Regions from separate parts of the Homo sapiens genome. Here all the other regions are linked to region 4. Evidence: promoter capture Hi-C in human tissues and cell types (Jung and others, 2019). All regions are on one chromosome and are shown on one strand. Each heading gives the region's core, a stretch centred on a gene start or on the middle of the fragment in contact. The rest is flanking DNA. Distances are from core to core; before and after follow the strand shown. Region 1 overlaps LOC105373893 (a long non-coding RNA gene). Region 2 has its middle 610 kb from the start of MIR4268. Region 3 overlaps LOC105373893 (a long non-coding RNA gene). Region 4 holds the start of EPHA4 (EPH receptor A4).

The links. The method cuts DNA at HindIII sites, captures the fragments that hold promoters and counts their contacts. A contact is called where the count stands out against the background at its distance.
Region 1: a contact is called between a fragment that was not itself captured here and the fragment with the promoter of EPHA4 in region 4, in 1 of the 25 tissues and cell types used here (dorsolateral prefrontal cortex).
Region 2: a fragment that was not itself captured here is called in contact with the fragment with the promoter of EPHA4 in region 4 in 2 of the 25 tissues and cell types used here (dorsolateral prefrontal cortex and heart left ventricle).
Region 3: a contact is called between a fragment that was not itself captured here and the fragment with the promoter of EPHA4 in region 4, in 1 of the 25 tissues and cell types used here (IMR-90 fibroblasts).

The regions. Positions count from the first base shown.
Region 1 is chr2:220,491,579-220,494,667 of GRCh38, forward strand. LOC105373893 (a long non-coding RNA gene) reads left to right here. Exons shown (of 5, transcript XR_001739889.2): 5 at 1,567-3,089. Among named protein-coding and RNA genes, the nearest start is that of MIR4268, 590 kb to the left of the region's middle. The HindIII fragment of the contact is 5,873 bases long and covers 1-3,089 here.
Region 2 is chr2:220,518,642-220,521,883 of GRCh38, forward strand. No RefSeq gene overlaps it. Among named protein-coding and RNA genes, the nearest start is that of MIR4268, 610 kb to the left of the region's middle. The HindIII fragment of the contact is 6,151 bases long and covers 1-3,242 here.
Region 3 is chr2:220,471,452-220,474,288 of GRCh38, forward strand. All of the region lies in intron 4 of LOC105373893 (a long non-coding RNA gene), which reads left to right. Among named protein-coding and RNA genes, the nearest start is that of MIR4268, 570 kb to the left of the region's middle. The HindIII fragment of the contact is 9,613 bases long and covers 1-2,837 here.
Region 4 is chr2:221,570,539-221,573,592 of GRCh38, forward strand. It overlaps EPHA4 (EPH receptor A4), which reads right to left and starts at 1,766. Exons shown (of 18, transcript NM_004438.5): 1 at 1,620-1,766. The coding sequence starts at 1,710. RefSeq lists silencers at 1,722-2,141, 2,742-3,021. The HindIII fragment of the contact is 17,926 bases long and covers 1-3,054 here.

The DNA.
Region 1 (3,089 bases), core at 192-2,691, 1.1 Mb before region 4:
CATTAAAAAAGAAAGAGAAATTGATTTGAAGACGCAAGATGGGATTGAGTTGTAATATAAAAGTTGCTGGTCTTTTACTCCTGAGAGGCAGGACCAGTTGATTTATAATCACAATTTTGAGCTTGCTTTCCCCCTCCTCCTCTTCCTCTCCTTCCTCCTTCCTGCCTCTCCCTGTTGGGAAGGGAGTGTAGACATGAGGTGACATGTCTCTTTTGATTTACCATACTGTGTCTTCATTATGAGCGCTGGCGATCAGGCAGTAGTGTTTTCTAACTTCAAAGGCTTCAGCAGCCTGTGCAGCATGCAGGGGAACTGAGGTGCCAGGATACGGAGTAACAACAATATGGTGTCGTCATATTTTAGGAGTGTCAGCTTATTCTTTATTTGTGGCACATCAAAGTGAAAATGAGGACACAAGGAAGCCTTTCCTCTTTGTTATTCTCTTCTTCAGTGACAATAATGTCTTCCAACTCAATGTCCAGGCCAGAGTCCTAAAAAACTAGTTCTTTCGAATTTAATATTTCTCATGCTTAAAGAACTTTAGGGGGAAAAAAAGCTACCAATAATAAACTGGAACAGAAAAGCTGCATGCTTATTGAGAAACATATTTAGAGAATCCAAGAGCCTATTTAGGGTAATGTAAGTATTGCTAGGTATCAGTGAGGAATAACAAGGTAACAATAATAATATTATAGCAGCTAATATTTATTGAGTGTTTACAAATTACCAGACGTTGTTTTAATCATTCATATAGATATTGGAACTGTGGCTCAGAGAGCTTAAATAATTCAACTAATATACAATGTGGTGTGGAGCTTGGACTCCAACCCATTGGACTCAGAGCCCACTCACATGAATATCAATTATTTAGCCGAGTATCATCTGTATTAGGAGTTAGGTTTTCAATTCAGTTCTTGGGGCATGGGGCAAACATCAAAAATAGTCAAAAGATACTGTTAACTTGGCTATAAAATACAGCATACTTTTTTATGTCTGGGTGTATGGATACAACTGCCAAGTAATGCTTATAAAAATATTTAATAAATAAAAGAACACCATAGCAAAATGAAACTTTAGATTCCTTTAAGGTACAAAAAGGAGCAAGCATACGTAGCTGCATTTTCTTATATAATATTGATATGTAATGTGACTTCAGTGAAATATAAAAGTGAGGTTACTGGAGGTTGGTTTCTTTATTTGAAAAGAAGCTACATAGATGTAGGTTACAATCATTGAATCACGTGGATTTATGCCCTGTTTTCCCAAGGAATGACCTTTACACAAGAGTCCAAACAAGAGTGTCACCTGGGGAAGTAAAAGCTGCCTGTGACTTGGAGTAAGAGCTTCAGGTGATACAAATACTGTCATCTGTGCTTTACCCCTCCTCCTAAATGCCTGATTTAGCCCTCACAGTGACTGTGTGCTTGGAAATATTTCCATTATTTTTAGAGTAGGTGGACCTTCAAGGATGTTAAGTAACTTGTCCAAAGTCACAGAGTCAGTCACTGTTTTAAGAGTTTGCTAGGAAATCCTTGGAAACCTCTGCTTCTGCTGTCCTTTTGTCAGGTGGTCATCATTCCTTCATCTGCGAAAAAAATATGAGCTTGATAAAACTGCTACCAGTGGAGCATGTGCCACCAAGATTGGCTTTGATTCTCCAGGGATACCCTGTATGTATCAATAAGAGGAGGAGATAAAGGCCGGGCGTGTTCAGCAAGAATGTTTCTATTTTGCTCTATGTCATGATAAATTACGCTTGCTGGCTGCATCGAATATTTCTGTTGAAGAAGAAAGAACACCCCACTCTCAGGATCCAAATTGAGAAAAGGATAGCTGTTCTTGGATGTCATCACTGCCAATCTGCCCTGAAATAAAAGAGAGAGTCCATTTCCGCTGTGTTCCAAGGAAGCAGCGAGCCCTAGAACGTGACAGGTCTCTCTTTCTGCCCCTCCTCATCGAGGGAAAGGGAGAACTACTGAAACAAAAAGAAGGAAACCTCACAAGCAGAGGGCTGAGAAACCTAGGCAGATAACATCTCCTTATTTCTTAACACTCTCTTAGAAAATTAAAAGGACTTTGTAGAAAATCCTTTTGACTGATGGAGTAGCTCCGAGGAACAGAGAAAGACAGATTAACAAGATGAAAGACCAGGAGCCAGAGGACCCAGACCAGGAGCCAGAAGACCCAGATGCTTTGAGGGCAACATCTTCCTTTTGTTGGAAATAATTAAGTGGTTCCTCTTATTAGGTCATGAGTGAGGTATTGAACACTCCAGCAGTAATCTGCACAGACCTCCATTCTTCCAGACCTCCCTGCCAACAATTCCGTAAGCACTCAATTCCAGTAAAATCCTTCTTCTGTTTAAAATGCCTAGAAAATTTTCTATTTTCCTGACCAGCTTTGACTGATACAAACAGAAAATGTGGTGCCAGGTCCTGCAACCATCATCTTGCAGACAATCCTTTCACAATATTCCAACATGCTGAGGATTCCGAGACAGAAAGACAACAGATTCTCAGACGATGTCATTGAGCCACTGCCCCAGATCCCGACAGCATCGCGTTTTCACTGCTTTTTAGGTAAAGGAAAATAAAATATACTTGGGTCAGTCAAATTAGTTTAGTTGTAGCCAGAGTATTCCTATTTTTTACCCAAGCTTCTCATCTGAGAAATGGGGCTACAGCAAGGTTTAGCATATATTTAATGGGATATATGCAGGGTGCTTGGCATCAAGTAACCACTTAATGTTGGTGATTAATGTTGAATCATTTTACTAGTCCTTAAGTTCAAAATAAGATGTATCTTTTCCTCTCAATGAAATTTCCGCGGAGGAGAATTATGCCAATAGAATATGCTTTTCTGAATTCAAGCCTGGACATCCAGTTAAATAAGTTAATGCCAAGTGATAATATTTTCGGCTGACTCCTTTCTATTGCATTTACAAATAGAATTAGTGGATCTGTTACATAGACATTCATGTGTAAAGTGTGAACTGTATGTTAAAAATATAAGTAAGAGATTGAGCTTGAGATAGCCCTATGTGTTGTAAAGGAAAACAAACTTTAATGTTATGGGTATAACTTTCTCTC
Region 2 (3,242 bases), core at 366-2,865, 1.1 Mb before region 4:
GAAAAAAGAAAGAGAATATGCCCAAGATTAAAGAGGATCTTTCTGGATTAATCTTGTTTTTATTTCAAGGTTTAGTACATTTTTGGATTATATTCTTTTTCGGAGTTCCTAAACTGGTTCTGTTCAAAATGGAGATTGAAATTTCCAAATTATTTCTCTTATTATCAGCACACCTGGAGACCTGAACTGTGGCACTGGATGTAGCTACTGTAAATAACGTCTTGGAATCTCTCACCCATATGTATTTGCTCTTATCTGTATGTAAAATGAGACATAGCCTTATTTTCACTTTAATCTAAGTCTGACACTAATGACCTCTCTGATAGTAAATCAATTATCCATCCATCCACCCATTCGTCCACCCATCCCATCAATTTGTGTTATTAGGTACCTACTGTATGCCTAATGTTTGCTAGTTGCTGGAGAAATCATAGTGAGAAAAAAAAGAATCAGTCTCTGCCTCAGGGAACTTACAGTCTCGTGTGGAGTGAGGTACTATTTTTAAAAAATCATGCAAATAATTATGTATTTTCAGTGGAGGAAACATACATGATACCATGACCATGAAAAGTTTTAGTAAGGCAAGTTGGACTAGTTAGGACAGGCAAAGAAGACTTCCCTGAGAAAATAATGACCAAGGTGAAGAATGGAAGAGGAAGGGAAGGAATATTAACCAGAAAAGGAATGGAAGAGTGGATATTAGACAGGCAGCAAATTTGTCCTCCCTCCCAAATTTCACATTAAAACAGAAGCACTTTAAATTTATATTGTGAATGACATGGAATTTATACAATGTTATGGTCATGCAGTGTTTCTAATTTCTGCATTGTCTATGGCTTATAAACAGCTAATGAGAAAAGCTTTGTCATCTTAAGCAAGTGCCCCATCTTCTACAAATGATAATAAATACTTATAGATTATGATAATTATCTCATATCTTGGTTAAGATCCCAACCAATAATAAAATAAAACAGAGAGAGTGACTGGGAACCCGTAGTAGATTAGCCACAATTCCAAAATCTAAACAGCTCTAACCACTTAAAAAATTGTAACTTAGTTCCTGATTGAAACCTTTTTGGTAAAACTTGACCTGTGCTAATGTGAGGATATTTATTACTTTTAAGATTCTCAATTGAAGTGTTTTCTTGTGAAGGGCATATGAGAGTGTTACGGAACTTTTAGAGGATTCCATTTCTTCCTCTTCTTTGTTTCCTTTTCTTCCTTTTTGTTCAATCCAATTTTCAAAATTCTGTATGCAAAAAAAAAAAAAAAAAAAAAAAAAGAGGCTGTGTGGGGTGGCTCAGCCTGTAATCTCAGCACTTTGGAAGGCTGAGGTAGGCAATAACTTGAGGTCAGGAGTTTGACACCAGCCTGGGCAATGTGGATAAACCCCATCTCTACTAAAAGTACAAAAAAAGAGAAAAGAAAGAAGGAAGAAAAAATTAGCCAGGCATGGTGGTGCACACCTGTAGTCCCAGCTACTTGGGAGGCTGAGGCAGGAGACTCGCTTCAACCTGGGAGGCAGAGGTTGCAGTGAGCTGAGATTTGTGTCACTGCACTCTGGCCTAGGGCACAGAGCAAGACTCTGTCTCAAAAAACAAAACAAAACAAAACAAAACAAAACAAAACAAAATGCGTCTCCAGAATTTCAGATATGTACTCTTGTTCCTTCTGTCTTTTTAATATTTACTTTACTTTTTAACGAAAATTATGTGTGGTGTGTGTGTGTGCATGTCCACGCACATGTGCTTCAAATAGGGGTGGTAGAAAGAAAAGTTTTTGCTGAGAACCAGGAGTTTTTAAGGCAATGTGGAATGAAACATCTGAGGATTGGCTGCCTTGGAAAAAGCTTCATGAAACATTTGCAAGTAGACTTCTATTTCTACTCCCATCTATCAGTCTTTGACATGTGGATTATCTGTAGGAGAGATATTTGACTGTTTTTATTCTTAAACAATTAGGTAAAGACATTCCTAGATCAGATCATACATTATTTCTCACTGACTTCTGTCGTTCTGGCCATGAAAGAGTCAGCAGGTGACTTGTCTTTGTTGATGAGTAGGATTTGTACTTCTCCAGTGGCCAGGAGGAATGGGAAAGATGAAGGCTAGCAAGAAGGCTGGACAGTGAGTTTCAGGGAGGGGAAGGGTTGGCAGCCCAGATTTTCAAAACCTTGAGCTTCACTTCTTAGCAAAGTCCTCCCCTTGCTGGAGGTAGAGTGGACTCGGTATTGGGGTAAAGTTCTATTGGCTTGAGACTGCCTGATGTAGACAACTTCCTTGGAACAATTCTGATTTCACAGTCGGGACCCACATGACAGTGTAAAACCCTATTCTCTAAGCATTATAAAGAATCATAGGGTTCATCAATCCAATGTCTCCTTTCTCACCATCGGGCATCCCTTTGCAAGTCTGAGGAAAGCCTTCTATTCTAAGAAAACTGTACATTCACACAGTATTTCACGCACCTTTTTTTTTTTTTTTTTTTTAAAGATTTCACAGGGTTGGTGAGAGAGGTCCTTAGACAACAGAGTTAGAGCTGTTGATACAATCCACTGGTTATAGTCCATTTCACACTAAGTAAAACTGAGGCCCTTGGAAGCAACAATATATCCCCAAGACCACAAAATAAGTTTATTTAAGAGCTTGGCTTAAAATCCAAATCTAGCTACTTCCACCTCAATTTTTTTTTTTTTTTCCACAATGTCAGGAGTATATCTCCTTAGCAATTTTTTTTTTTTTTTTTTTTTTTTTTTTTTTTTTTTAGTTTTTAAGGAAAGAAAAGCTGTAGCTTCTCTCAGCAGTTTTAAATCCTGGAAGGGCATTAGGCAGGGAAGTCTAGAGTAGTGAATTTCCCATTAAATTTCCCTCTTCCATTTTATCTTAATTTTCCAGTCTCCATTTTAGTTCCTTTAAAAATCTGTCTAGCCAATCTTTCTTCTCTCATGTCCAGGGCTTGTCAGGGATGTGACCACTTACCACCTGCTGACCCTTCACCATTTAGTATTTTGCAGCGTTGACCTCCCTGCTGAGCCAGAAAGCCTGGACCAGATTGAGAAGAAATGCGTGTGAGTGGTTGTCCTTTGTTCTGCTCTTGGCTCCTCACTCTGACCATGTGTTCCAGGCAGGACTTCCAATTAGAATGCCTCAAAGAAAAGAGCAGATTGGAGATGCTATGTCCTCCTCCGCCGCCAGCAGGCCTGGGGGTGGCATAATATGCTGCCCAAAATCTTACTGGGAAAG
Region 3 (2,837 bases), core at 249-2,748, 1.1 Mb before region 4:
ATCTTCAATCTATTGATCAGACTTTCCTTCACTGGAGATTTGTGAGATAAGCTCAATTCCTCTTCTTTAAAATGTAATTTCAGATATTTGAAAATAATTATCATGCCTCCACTGTGCTCTGTCTCCAGTTATAGTATTTTTTTTTTTTTTGCTCTAATAATTACTCCTCCTATAATCTAGTTTCTAGTCTCTTCACAGTTCTGGTATCACTGTTCTTGATAAGCCTCAGTTAATCTGGACTGCTATATGTGTGAGTGTGTGACATACACACGTATGTATATGTGAATATTTATTCACACGTCTATAGACTGACTGTTTGTCCACCTCCCACTCCCCAAATTCATATGTTGAAACCTAATCGCCAATGTGATGGCATGAATAGATGGGGGCTTTGGGAGGTAATCAGGTCATAAGGGTGGAGCCCTCATAAATGGCATTAGTTCCTTTATAAAAGAGACCCCAGAAAGCTCCCTCTCCCTTTTCACCACATGAGGAATGTCTGTACACCAGGAAGTGGGCTCTCACCAGACATGGAAACTGAAGATGTTTTGATCTTGGGTTTCCCAGCCACAGAACTGCGAGAAATAAATGACTGTTGTTCATAAGCCACCCAGTCTACAGAACTTTGTTATGTAAGTCTAAATGGACTACCACAAGGATTAAACCAAGGACTGCCACTGTACGAGCACTGTCTTCTTTGTTTCGAACATGATACTGCTACTGGTGTGAGCTAAGTAGGCATTAGTTTTTCTTGGCAACCATGCCACCCCATTGGCTCATAAAGAGACTGATATCAACCAAAATTCCCAAGCATTTTATAAACAATCTCATAGTGATATCAGGTATCCACTGTACTTCACTGACTCAGTTGCTTTCTGAGGCCCAAGTGCATGACTTTAATAGGAATCAATACAATCTTTAATTCTAGTTTGTCAAATTCTTTTTGAAAACTGATTTTATCACCAGATGTGTATTTAATACAAACTTGACAAGGACATATCTTGACTTGTAGTAATTAAGAAAAATACTGGATGACATCTATTGCAGACATCTTGTTCCACCCTACTTGTCTGTTATTGATCCATTATCAACAGACAACATGTGTGCATGTGTGTATAGATATACAGGGAAACTGTAAAACAAATCACAAAGTATTTTCAACTTGCTGATATCAAAATATATTCTTTGTATGGTATTTTTCTGACCTCCTTGCCTGTATTTTTTTGTAATGAAAATTAGCTTAGCATGATTGGTTGATTGTCTATGTTGGCTCTTTGGCTTCAGAATATAGCCAGGGTCAACATCAAGCTCAGCTGTATGTAGTCACTAGTTCCTAACTGTATTTCTCTATTTTAAAATGTATTTCATCTACTAGAACACCTTGCTTTTAGAGCAATGTAAGCATGTGTTCATAAGTTGGCCTTGTATATAAGTCATTTGGGTCTAATGACTTCTATTCATTTCAAACAGAGAGATGTTACTTAACTATCTTCTACCATCTTTACTTCTGGTTCCCTGATAATTGTGCTTGTTACCTACATTTTCCAGTTTTAAAATCATTATGATAGAAGTAGAAGATGGAAAAGGTGATCTTAGATAGGAGTCAAGTTCTCATGCTTTTGCATTATTTGTTAATGATGTTTTATTTATCTGAATTCTTGAATTTAAGCCTTTCTCAATCTTAATATTATGGCTATATTTTTAATAACCCAGTGTATTGCTCTTGACACTTTTACTACATCTGTTTTTCAACTTAGAATTTACCCTCATATATGAAATCAATTGTCCTTATCATAACTGACCTATACATTTAAAATAGTTCAGTGATTACAAAAATAGTTTCTCCCTAGTGGTATTTAATATAATCAGATCATTAATAGCATGGGCTTATGTCCTCACATGTATGCTGCTTTTAAGTTTTCAAAGCATTTTATACATTTTTAATCTTAAGAACTAGACTCAGTCATAAGATTAGATTTGATCATAAATCTAAGTTACTTCCTGGCTCATGTAATGTGAGGTGATGCTGAGTAAGGTAGAGATAACTTCATTTTCTTAAGAGCAGTGTGTGTGTGTGTGTGTGTGTGTGTGTTTGTGTTTTATACATATATATGTTTATGTGAATATATATCTACATGTTGTACTCCTTATTTAAGAATTTCCACACTATATAAAATAAATATAGAACAAAAACTAATTGGCATCTAACTAAATACAGAGAGGGGAATGCAACAATTTCAATGTGAGGGTCATATTAAAATAAAACAAGAATGTAATCTTAGATTATAGTCTTTTTTGAGGGTGACTAACCATATCCATTTGCCTGAGAACTGGAGGATTTCCCAAGATGCAGAACTTTCAGTGCTCAAACTGGGAAATTCCTGGGCAAATTGGGATGAGTTGGTCATCTTATCTTTCTCCTAATTCTTTCCAGATGACACCTCCCCCTGCTGTTTTATTTTATTTTATTTTATTTTATTTTATTTTATTTTATTTTATTTTATTTATTTTAAACCTGGAATGGTTGACCACCTTCCAATTCTAACACAACTAGCTTTTCTTTGGCCAATTTCGTTTTCTTCTGTCTTTTAGGTACTATTTCTTGTTAGTCTACAGACTATTATTTCCTTCTTAAAACTACCCTCCCTTCCATCTCTCTCTCTCTCTCTCTCTCTCTCTCTCTCTCTGTCTCTCTCTCACCCACCTCTCTTACTTGCTGTCTTACCTTATGAGAGAGCAGCTAGGGCCACACAGTTTCTTCTTAATGCTCTCGTTTCAATGTTTAGTTTATGACCATGAAATGATCATTAATACCTCCGGATAATTTGCATTTCTAT
Region 4 (3,054 bases), core at 516-3,015:
GAGATCCAGAGGGCGAGAGAGGGCCCCTTTCCTCCCAAGCGATGTCTGTGGGCAGGTGTATAAATCTCTCAGAGCCTCCGTCTGGAGGGCTCCGGGTACCGGCTGCCCAGCCAAGGCTAAGTTGGTTTTTGGCTCCCTCCTTCGGAACAGAGAAAACGATAGATTACACAGGGATGGATGGACGGATGTCTGGAGAGATGGAAAGATGAATGGATGGATGGATGGGTGGATGGATGGATAGATGAATGGGTGGATGGATGGAGGGATGGATGGACGGACGGACGGACAGATATATGGATGGATGCATTATGGATGGATGCATGGACGGACGGACGGATGCACGGAGAGATGGATGGATGCATGGATGGATAGATAGACGGATGGACGGACGGATAGATAGATGGATGCCGGAAAGGAGAAGAATGAGAGACGGATGTGAGACTAGATGCACGCAGGCCAGAGCACCAGCATACGCTGGAACAGAGCACGAGCATACACTCGAACACACGCGCACACACTCAGGACATCTGCGCACAGACATACAATCCTCCGCGTCCGCTTCCACGCAGGCATTCGCGCACCTACATACACGCAGTTGCACGCGCGCGCACACACACAGGCACACACACGCAGACATGCACACACACGCAGACATGCACACACACCACACATGCAGACATGCACACACACGCAGACATGCACACACACACCACACATACACACACACACACACACAGTTCGCCTCTCCCTGGGTTTCTCAGAAACTAAATGATCACCGCCCCCCCGCCCCGCCCCACCTCCCGACACAGACACACAGGCACATACAATCCTCCCAGCACGTCCGAACGGATGCACAGAAAACTGAGCACCCAGACGGGTCCCGTCGACCCCGCACGTTAGCTCTAAACTGTGTGCAATTCTGGGGCGAAAAGCTAAAACTCGACTGCGTTCAACTTGCCGGCGGGTTCCCCAAGTCTGCGGGGCGAAGAGCTCGGGCCCCTCAGGCCCGCAATCGCACCCTCGGGGCGCTGGGCTTGGCGAGGAGAAAGGTGTCTGACTCCGGGTGCTAGAAATCAGGTCACTGGCGCCTGACGAGCGGCGCCACGACCGCTGCGCTGCGGAGCAGGCCCCGCAGCCCGGTCCCGAGAAGCGCAGGGCTCGGGAAACTTTGCAGAAACCAGAGCTCGAAAGGCTTTCGCTAGAATCCGGGAGCACCAAGCCTTCACTGTGCTCCAGGCTGCGTTTTCCCCTCGCCCCGGGCTGGCTCAGGAGAGGACGTGGTTCTTGTAATTTTTTTTTTAAATCCCGGCGTTGTCTCCCGTGCATCCCCTCAGGGCGCCTCGAGCGGGCCTCTCTGGCGGATGCTGATAAACTTTGGCCTTTGGTTACAAACTTGGACAGACCCGCCGCGTGCACGGGTCACCGCCTCGGGGCAGGCTGTCCGGCGGTTCCCCGCTGCCCCTTCGCCGATCCCCTCGCCTCAGCCCCCTTCTCCCGAATCGGGACGCACCATTCACACTGGGCTCCCCCCGCACCACCTGGCCCTGCGCTCCTGAGGACCCCTCACCCGCGATGGCCCCTCGCTGTCCCCGACCACAGAAAGGCCGTCCCGCTCTTACCTTCATTCGCGGGGTATACCCTGGAACCTGTGACAGCGTCGCAAATCCCGAAGAGACACGAAAATAGGGCGAAATAGAAAATCCCAGCCATGGTTCGCCGGTGCCAACGCTGCTCCTGCCGCTTCTATCCCAGTGGAATAAATGCTTAAGTTAGGAGAGCAGCGGGCTGAAGACATTGCCAAGGGGGCGGGCCCGGCCGGTGACGTGAGCCCGCCAGTCCGGGGCCCGCGGCCAATGGCGGCGCAGACAGGGCGGCCGAGCCCCGCCTTCACCGAGCAGGGCCCGCCCCAGGGTTCCGCCCCCTCCGGGCTCCACGGGGCGCGCGGTCTCCCGGGGCTCTAGGGGGCGAGCACGGCCGGTCCCCGCCCCCGCCTGCCGGAGGGAGCCAGCGGGATCCCCCACGTTACCTCGAAGGTCGAGCCCCTGGACGGCGGAGGGACTTTGGAAAAGCTCGGAATTGACCGAGGGGAGCCAGAGAAGAGGTTGGAAACCTTTTCTCCCACCACGGGCGGTTTAAGATGGAGGAAAACGCTCTTTTATTGAAATAAAAGAAGTCTAAGCTGACCTGCGGTTGCTTCTTTAGGAGAGTCGACGTGTCTGCGTCCAGCGCGCCCGGGCTGAGCTGCAGACTCGCGCCTGCCACCGCCACCCTCTGCCACCTTGCCCTGTTTTGTCTTTATGGCGCTTCCCCCTCTGAAATACTCTTTGCGGGGAGTTTTGTGGCTCTATCACTCGCTTCTTCCCTGGCTCCCCAGATGCCTGGAGAGCGGGGACCTACTTGGTCCCCAACGTCCAGTCCGCAGCAGGGCTCCGTCACTGTCTCCAGAGACTGAACGAATGACTTTCTAGCAGTAAGGAAGTCCCCGCTGGCCCCGTCCCCCTGCACACGCCGTGGACCTCGCCCAGGGCCCAGGACGCCCCGAGATGGCCTTGGGCAGGGAACCAGTTGTGGATTTCCCGGGGGCAGGGTTGGGGGCAGTCCCTGGAACCGGGCCTAGCCCGTCTGGGAGCGGTGGGGTAGAAGTGAAAGGCTTAAGTGTGGGTGCGGGGACTTGCAGCCGCACAGACAAGGCAGACCGGGACTGGGAAGCTGCCCGGAGCGGCTGCTGCGACTCTCCGCTCCGACCTAGCCGGGGCAGCCCTCCCTGCCCCGGGAGAAGACGGCGAGCAGGAGGACCCGCAGAGCCCCGCCCGGCTGCTCCGGCCCCGGGGGCACTGGCACCATCGGGCTGTGGTCTTTTCCCGATGCCCGAGCCGTGGACGCGGCCACCTAAGAGCGGTCCGGCGAAGGCAGCGCAGCCGGTGTCCCAGGGACCGGTCCCCAACGCCACTCGGTGCATTTCCCCAGGCGCTGGCAGGGGCACTGATTCCTAGCAATGAGGCCTCCCTTCCCCTTCCCAGGCCGCCCCTCCTCTGACTCCCTCCAGAGCAGGGC